2 separate regions of the Homo sapiens genome follow, and region 1 is linked to region 2. Evidence: promoter capture Hi-C in 16 types of primary human blood cells and fetal thymus (Javierre and others, 2016). All regions are on one chromosome and are shown on one strand. Each heading gives the region's core, a stretch centred on a gene start or on the middle of the fragment in contact. The rest is flanking DNA. Distances are from core to core; before and after follow the strand shown. Region 1 overlaps RCOR3 (REST corepressor 3). Region 2 holds the start of SLC30A1 (solute carrier family 30 member 1).

Region 1 (3,883 bases), core at 613-3,112, 260 kb before region 2:
TATAAAAGCAAAACTAGAAATCTTTTAATGACAATTTTCATTAATTTCAGGGTTATCATTTTTGAGAAATCTACACCAAAGTGGTTTTTTAAAATTACATAACTAAAAATAAACCACACTGTGGATACATCTTATAAAACTAATGGAAACAATGTTTTTCTATATGATTTAATTCTAGTGTAATATGGATGAGGTAAGAGTAAGTTATGATCAAACTTTTTATGTTCTTAATAAGCTTGCAATTGAGTAAAATAGAATATAAAATAAAGGTGAAATAATATAAAATTTTGTCTTAATGTAGGCCTACATTCTTTTTAGGAATAGATGTAGAGAGCAAGCCAAGAACGTGACTATCATTTTTAAGAATATTAAAAATTGCAAGTACAGTCATGCCCTTAACAACGGGGATATGGTCTGAGAAAGGTGCTGTTAGGTGATTCTTTTGTGCTGTGAATCAGATTGTACTTGTACCAACATTGGTGGCAAAGTCTACTACACACCTAGGCTATATGGTATAGCCTTTGCTCCTAGGCAACAGTCCTATGCTGTACAGTAATATACTGTACTGAATATCATAGGCAGTTATAACACAGTGGTAATATCTGTGTATCTAAACATAGAAAAGGTATAGTAAAAATACAATATTTTATATATTTATTTTTTGAGACAGGTTCTCACTCTGTCGCACAGGCTGGAGTGCAGTGGCGGGATCTTGGCTCAGCAACCTTTGCCTCCCAGGCTCAAGCAGTTCTCCTGTCTCAGCCTCCTGAGTGTCTGGGATTACAGGCGCCCGCCACCACACCTGGCTAAGTTTTGTATTTTTTAGTAGAGATGGGGTTCCACCGTGTTGGTCGGGCTGATCTTGAAGTCCTGGTCTCAGGTGATCCACCTGTCTTGGCCTCCCAAAGTGCTGGGATTACAGGTATGAGCCACTGCTTCCTGCTGATGTTATAATTTTAAAGAACATCAGTGTATTTGCAGTCACTGACCGAAATATTGTGTGGTGCATGACTGTACTTGGGTTAAAGTACCTAGTTTAGTTATTAAGTATGTTGTATTAATTTTATGTTCCCTCCTGTTATCAAAAGGTTATTTATGAACATTAATAACTGCTAACTAGTTAACACTGGGGTGTCAGGATCTCCTCAAAAAGAATAGTAATCTGACTTCGAACTCTAAGAAGAATCTATCTTTCTCTTTGTGCATGCCCAAAATAAATGACAAATACATTCTTATTAGAGGACACACAAGAAAAAAAGTGTTTTTAAATTTAGCCATTCATTATAGATTACATCGTTTATAAGAAAATAACAGAATAAATGAATACGGAAAGAACCCAAGAATCAAGTTTGAGAAACCATTCCATATTAGAAAATGCCTACAAGAAACTTTTGACATCTGATTTATGGTAGTACCTGAACTGTTTTCACCTAGGAAAGAGTAGGTCATGTGTAACTCCCCACAACTTCTTTATCATAACTGCCTTAGGGAAGGAATGTTCTGCAGCAGTATATTAGTGACAATGGAGTTTGAGAATTAAACATGACAAGGAATGCTCCTAGATGTGTGAGTTTGTGTCTAAAGGGCCATGTGGCTTTATCTGCCCTTTTTTGCTCTCCTAAGTCTATATAGCTAAGGGAGAAACAGTGAAGATCAGAAGTTAATATTGGGTTGAGATGTTTGCCAATTGTCATTACTTGGTTTAAAGTAGACAATTGTTTATTAATAAACGGAACAGTCTTTACAATGCAGTAATCTAAACTTTAGAATCCTAAAGCAGGAATCTGGGTGAGCAGGGTCTCTAAGGAAAAAATGCTGGTGATGTGAAGTGGAGAGATCTAAGAACAGTCTTCACAATGTAAATGAGGTCAAAGTTGATGTCACAGAATGCTTCATATGTTTCCTTCCCTTGGACTATTTTAAGAAAGGTGAAATTTTTATTCTGTACAATTTAATCTTATTTGTAAGGTACAGTTACCAATAACTAAGAAGATGCTGAATAATACCACAACACAAGGTATCTCTTGAGGGATCTGTCTAGTTTACTACCTGGAACAGCTTTCTTATTTGACAGGATTTGGCTTGAAGAGGCCTTTAATCCAAAGACCATTTTGTTGATATCCTGCCTCTTCATCTTTTCCAAAAGAGTTTGAAAATAATCAGAATCATTGAGGGCTTGTGGCCTATATTTGCAAAATAATTGCCCACCAACCTTTAACACAATGAGTTTTCCAACTCCACTAAGCAAGTTACTTAATCTCTGTGAGCCTCATTTTCCTCATTTGGGGAGGAATATATAAACTGGGGCATATAGTACCTGCCCAATGTATGTTAGAGGTTTTTACATGTCTACTTATACCATACCCTTCTTAATAAGGGAAATGTATTGTGACTTTTTTTTTTTTTTTTGGACAGAGTCTCGTTCTGTCACCCAGGCTGGAGTGCAATGGCGCAATCTCAGCTCATTTTTTTAAAAAAATTAAAGTGCAGTGCAAAAATGAGAGATTAATTTCAGTTCAAGATGACAGACTGGACATAGTCTTTTACTTTTCTTACCCATAATCTCCCCCTGCCAGTCTTACTGAAATGACAAGAAATAGAAAAACCAAAATAACCCTTAGCAGTGCTAGGAAGCCAGAGGAGGAGCTACCAGCAGATGGGGATACATTTATGACAAAAGCCAGCAGAATTAAGGAACCTCTAATGTGACAAAGAGCTGAAGCCAGCCTTTTGCTAACAGCCAGCAAAGAACTCAGGCCTTCAGTTCAACAACCTGCCAGGAACTGAATCCTGCCAACATCCATGTGCACTTGAAAATGGATCCTTCCCCAGTTGGGTCTTGAGATGACCAGAACCCAGCTAACAGCTTGATTGCAGCCTATGACTTGAATAACACACCTTTACCTAGTTGAAATGTGGGATCATTCTACCCAACAGCAGAATAAACATTGTTTCCATGTGCACATGAAATATTGCTCAATATCAGCACTACTGACATTTTAGGTTAGATAATTCTTTTTTGTGCATTTAGAATGTTGAACAGCATCCTCAGCCTCTACCCACCAGATACCAGTAGAACCCCCTTCCCCAGTTTGAGAATCAAAAATGTCTCCAGACATGGTCAAATGTCCCATAAGGAGCAAAATCACCTCCAGTTGAGAATCATTGCAATATATCATATTAATAAAATAAAGGAAAAAAGCCATATGATTATGTTGATAGACACAGAAAAGATATTTGACAAAATCCAACACCTATTCATGATTAAAACTTAGAAAACTAGGAATGCTTCCCCTCAGGATGGAAATCAAGGCAAGGATGTCTGCACTCACAACTCTATTCAGTGGTTTACTGAAGGTTATAGCCAGTGCAATAGGCAAGAAAAAAGTATAGAGATTGGAAAGGAAAAACTAAAATTGTTTTTATGTGCAGATGACATGAAATTGTATGTAAAAAATCCCAAGAAACCTGCAAAAACTAGAATAGTAAGCAAGCTTAAGAAAATCAGAGGATACAAGATCAATGTACAATCAATTGTATTTTCATATAATGGCAACAAGTGATCTGAGAATGGAATTAAGAAAATTTTATTCATGATAGTATCAAAAAATAGGAATAAACAAAAATGTGCAAGACTTGTCCATGAAAAACTATATTGCTGAGAGAAATAAGACCTAAATAACTAACTGTTCATGGATTGGAAGATTGATATTGTTAAAATGGCATTTCTCCTCAAACTGATTTATAGATTCAATCTAATTCTTATAAAAATCCTAGCAGGCTTATTTTGCACAGACTGGCAAACTGATTTTGAAATTTATATGGTAATGCAAAGGACCTAGAACAGGGGCCAGTAAACTTTTTCTATAAATAGCCAAATAGT
Region 2 (3,582 bases), core at 312-2,811:
GAATTGAATTGGGAAGCATTTCTGACGCTGTTATAACCATAACCAGACAAGTCTCCAGCAAAGTTGCTGCAGCCTGTAAAGACAGCCAAGTGCGGGTGTGGACTGCAGCGGGATGATGATCACCTCCTGACCCTTTTTCTTAGGGTCTGACCCACAGCCCCCACCTACAAATATGCCAGACGCGTCGCCGGCTCCTTGCACCCGACTGAGGGGGTTCTGATTTCCTGGAGCAGCAGCGGGGCGTGTGCAGGACGGGGAGGGAGCAGGCAGGGGCGGCGCGGCGCAGGCCCGCTCGGGCAGCAGGGGGCGTGCGGGCCACCCCGCCGAAGGCCAGGCGAGGCTCTGGGCACCCCAAACCCAACCACCTGCGGCAGCGACTTTCCCGGCTCACCTGCGGGGTCCAATTTCAGCCCGTTGGAGTTGCTGGTATTGGCCACCAGGGTGTTGGTCTCCTCCTGGTCGGGACCCTGCTCGCCCGGGGCCACGTTGATGTCGCTGCTCCCGGGGCGGGTGCTCTTAACGCGAGGCCCCTTGGGGAGGCCGTGGCCGTGGCCGTGACCCCCGTGCGAGTGGCCGTGGCCGGAGTCCTGGCTGAAGCCGCTGTGATGGTGGAAGAGGCAGAGCCCCAGCACGTTGACCAGCAGCCCGGCCACGCCGACCCCAAGGACCACCAGCGGCTGCTGCATCTCGTGCGGCTCGATGAAGCGCTCGATGGCCTCCAGCAGGATGGCGAAACAGAGGCCAGTCAGGAAGATGGCGTTCACCAGAGCCCCCATTACCTCGGCTCGGATCCAGCCGAACGTGTTCTTCTGGGTGGCGTGGGTCCGCCGGGCGAAGCGCTCGGCCACCAGCGCCACCACCAGCGCCAGCACGTCCGACAGCATGTGGAAGGAGTCGGAGAGCATCGCCAGCGACGAGGTCACCCGGCTCACCACCACCTCCAGCACCATGAACATGAAGGTCAGCGCCAGCATGCACAGCAGCCGGCCCCGGTTCCGACCCCAACACCCCATGGCTGCGGCTGCGGGGCCCGCCGAGCCCGGCCCGGAGACTGGTGCAGCGGCGGCGTTGGCGGGACGCGGAGGGTCGGCGACCGCGACACGGAGGAGCGCCCGAGTCGGGCCGTTCGGGAAACCGCTGAGGGGCCCCCGCGGCCGCACGGGGACAAGCCCGGGTCAAGCCGCCGAGCCCCGCGCCTGTGGGCGTTCTCCGCCAGCCGGCGGCGCCGCGCCGCGCAGCTCCTCAGGCGTCCGTCCTCAGAGCCGGCGCCGAGGCCCGGCTCAGCCTCAGCAGCCCCCACACCCAGGCGGCGGCGGTGGCGGGGAGCTGGGCTCCCGGAGCCGGGGTACCAAGAGCCGCAGCCGGAGCAGGAGCAGGAGGGCGGCGGGCGAGGGCGGCAGGAGAGGGCGACGGGCAGCTTCGCGCCGAGAAAGCTCCGAGCATCTGAGGGCTCTGCTTGCTGGTCTCCTCTGCGGCGGCTGGACTGAGGAGCGGATGGCTGAGGAGCTAGAGAGGCGGCGGCCACGGCAGCTGCACTCGGCCCGGTCTCGGGCGCCTTCTTCGCCCCCCCGCCTTTGCAGACGGTTTACAAAAAAACTTTGCTTTGCACTCGGAACCCCCGTTTTCACACGGACCCGAGCGTGACAAGGCCTTGCCGCCCCGCCCACCAGGCCCGGCACGCTTCCCCATTGGTCAGGACCCCCTCACGACAGCCTCGGCGTCCCGCCCAGCCACGCTCACTATTGGATGGAGCCTCGGAGGGGCGGGAAGGGGGCGGGGTCGCGGCTCCAACAGATAGGGGCGGGGCCTTTTCCTCCCGGAGCCGGGCGTGGGCCGGGGGGCCGTGGCCGGGTGCAGCGGCGGGCGAATTGGGGGCGCGGGCCGCGTGCAGCGGGAGGGGGAGGGGCTGGCCGGGTCCCCTCGGGTGTGGCGGAGTCCTGGCCTGCGGACCATCGCAACTCCCAGCACACCTGCGGGGGCCGGGCTGCAAAGTCTGCAAACAGACTTTGATCCTCCGAGCCCAGTCCACGTGGGGGCGGGCCGCGCGGCGGCTGTGTGACAGCTCGGCGGCGGGGGAGGGGCCGGAGGGGAGCCCCTGAGCGCGGGGCCCTCGAGTACTCGGTCCTGTCGGAGGAGGCCGACAGACGCATAAACAAGTGCGACTGTAACTTGGGACTCTGCTGGACGCCGAGCTGAGGAGTTAGTCCTCCCGAAGGTCTGCTAGGGGCGTGGACCGAATCTTTGTACATGTTTTGGGAAAGCCAGTTTCTCCTATCACCATCAACCCCTGGAGACCTTGTGTGAACTCAGGTGTCTGTCACTGATTATCTAAGGACAGTTCAGGGTACAGACTTCAGGCAGGAGAAACCTGGGCTCTGCTCCTTGCCTTGTCAATAGCCAGCTGTGTGGCTTTGAGCAAGTCACCTAATCTCTCTAGACCTGTTTCCCCATCTATAAAGGACTGGACAAATGCAACTCTGAAGATCCCCGTCTGACTCCAAAATTCTAAGGCTCTATGATTTAACATTTATTTATAGACTACACACGGTGGAATCTTGTGCTGGTTGCTATGGGGAGGTGGAGGGGCAGTAAGAATACAAAGGAACGAGTTTCTGTCCAGGTGGAGGTAAAATATAAACACGACATTTTAAAATTACGATGGAATACTCTTGATAAATTGTGCTATTTTAGACTGAATACATAAGCACTGTGTTGTGGGTGGAGATGAGTTGATCTGGAAAGGAACAGCTTGCCCATCTAAGGTGGGGTGGTGGCTGGAATCAGAGTGGCTTAAGCTGGACCTGAAAGGCCTCACCACAGCCCCTGCGCAGCAGAAGGACCTCCCCACCCACTGCCCTAGATTACTACTGGACAAATGCAGTGCCAGCTATTGCCTGGAGATGTGTATACAAGGCTTGTTTGGAGCTGTTATTTTGCATTGTTTTGGTATTCTTGTAATTCCTATGAAATTTTTTTCACTTGTATGTAGTGTGTTTCTAGTCTCCCCATCCAGACTGGAGAGCTGGATCCTCACCTTCTGTTTCTGTTTTGCTGGAATATAAAGAATGGAGGAAAATTTTCAAGACATTATTAAGGAAAAAATGATAGAATTTGATGATTAATTGGGTATTGGGAAGGAGGAAGCTAGGTAGGAGAACAAAGATAGTTATAATGTTTCTAACCTGACAAGGAAAATACTGCCTTAAACAGGTGAGGAAGTTGGGAAGGGAGGCCAAGAAGCTGATTTTTAGGAGAAAATATGAACTCCATTTTTAATGTGCTTAATTTGAAGTGAAGTCTGGGTTTGGGCAGTGCTAAAGGGTGGATTAATGGGTTTAGGACTTCCATAACTTCCTCTCCTTTGATATGGATGAGTGACAGTTTTCTGATCATCTGTAAACACAGCTTCAAACATCCTATCAACTAGCCCCTCATATACAGAAATTCGGAAGCCACTTATGGGTCAAGATATCCTCATGGAAATGGCCTAGAGGCAGTTTGAAGACCATTTTGCTTTCTACTAAGGGCTGCTGTGCCTCGCTTTATTTAAAAAATACATTCCTCCAAATGCGAAGATTTGAT

The links. Contacts are between HindIII fragments. The CHiCAGO score rates a contact against its expected background, and 5 or more counts as called.
Region 1: a contact is called between a fragment that was not itself captured here and the fragment with the promoter of SLC30A1 in region 2, in 1 of 17 cell types (M2 macrophages). The highest score is 5.0, in M2 macrophages.

What each region holds. Positions count from the first base shown.
Region 1 is chr1:211,316,101-211,319,983 of GRCh38, forward strand. RCOR3 (REST corepressor 3) reads left to right here. Exons shown (of 12, transcript NM_001136223.3): 12 at 1-285. Among named protein-coding and RNA genes, the nearest start is that of TRAF5, 8.8 kb to the right of the region's middle. The HindIII fragment of the contact is 3,259 bases long and covers 234-3,492 here.
Region 2 is chr1:211,577,600-211,581,181 of GRCh38, forward strand. It overlaps SLC30A1 (solute carrier family 30 member 1), which reads right to left and starts at 1,562. Exons shown (of 2, transcript NM_021194.3): 1 at 392-1,562. The coding sequence starts at 1,013. RefSeq lists silencers at 192-541, 1,042-1,351, 1,592-2,151 and enhancers at 652-761, 734-1,235, 1,236-1,735. The HindIII fragment of the contact is 24,351 bases long and covers 1-3,582 here.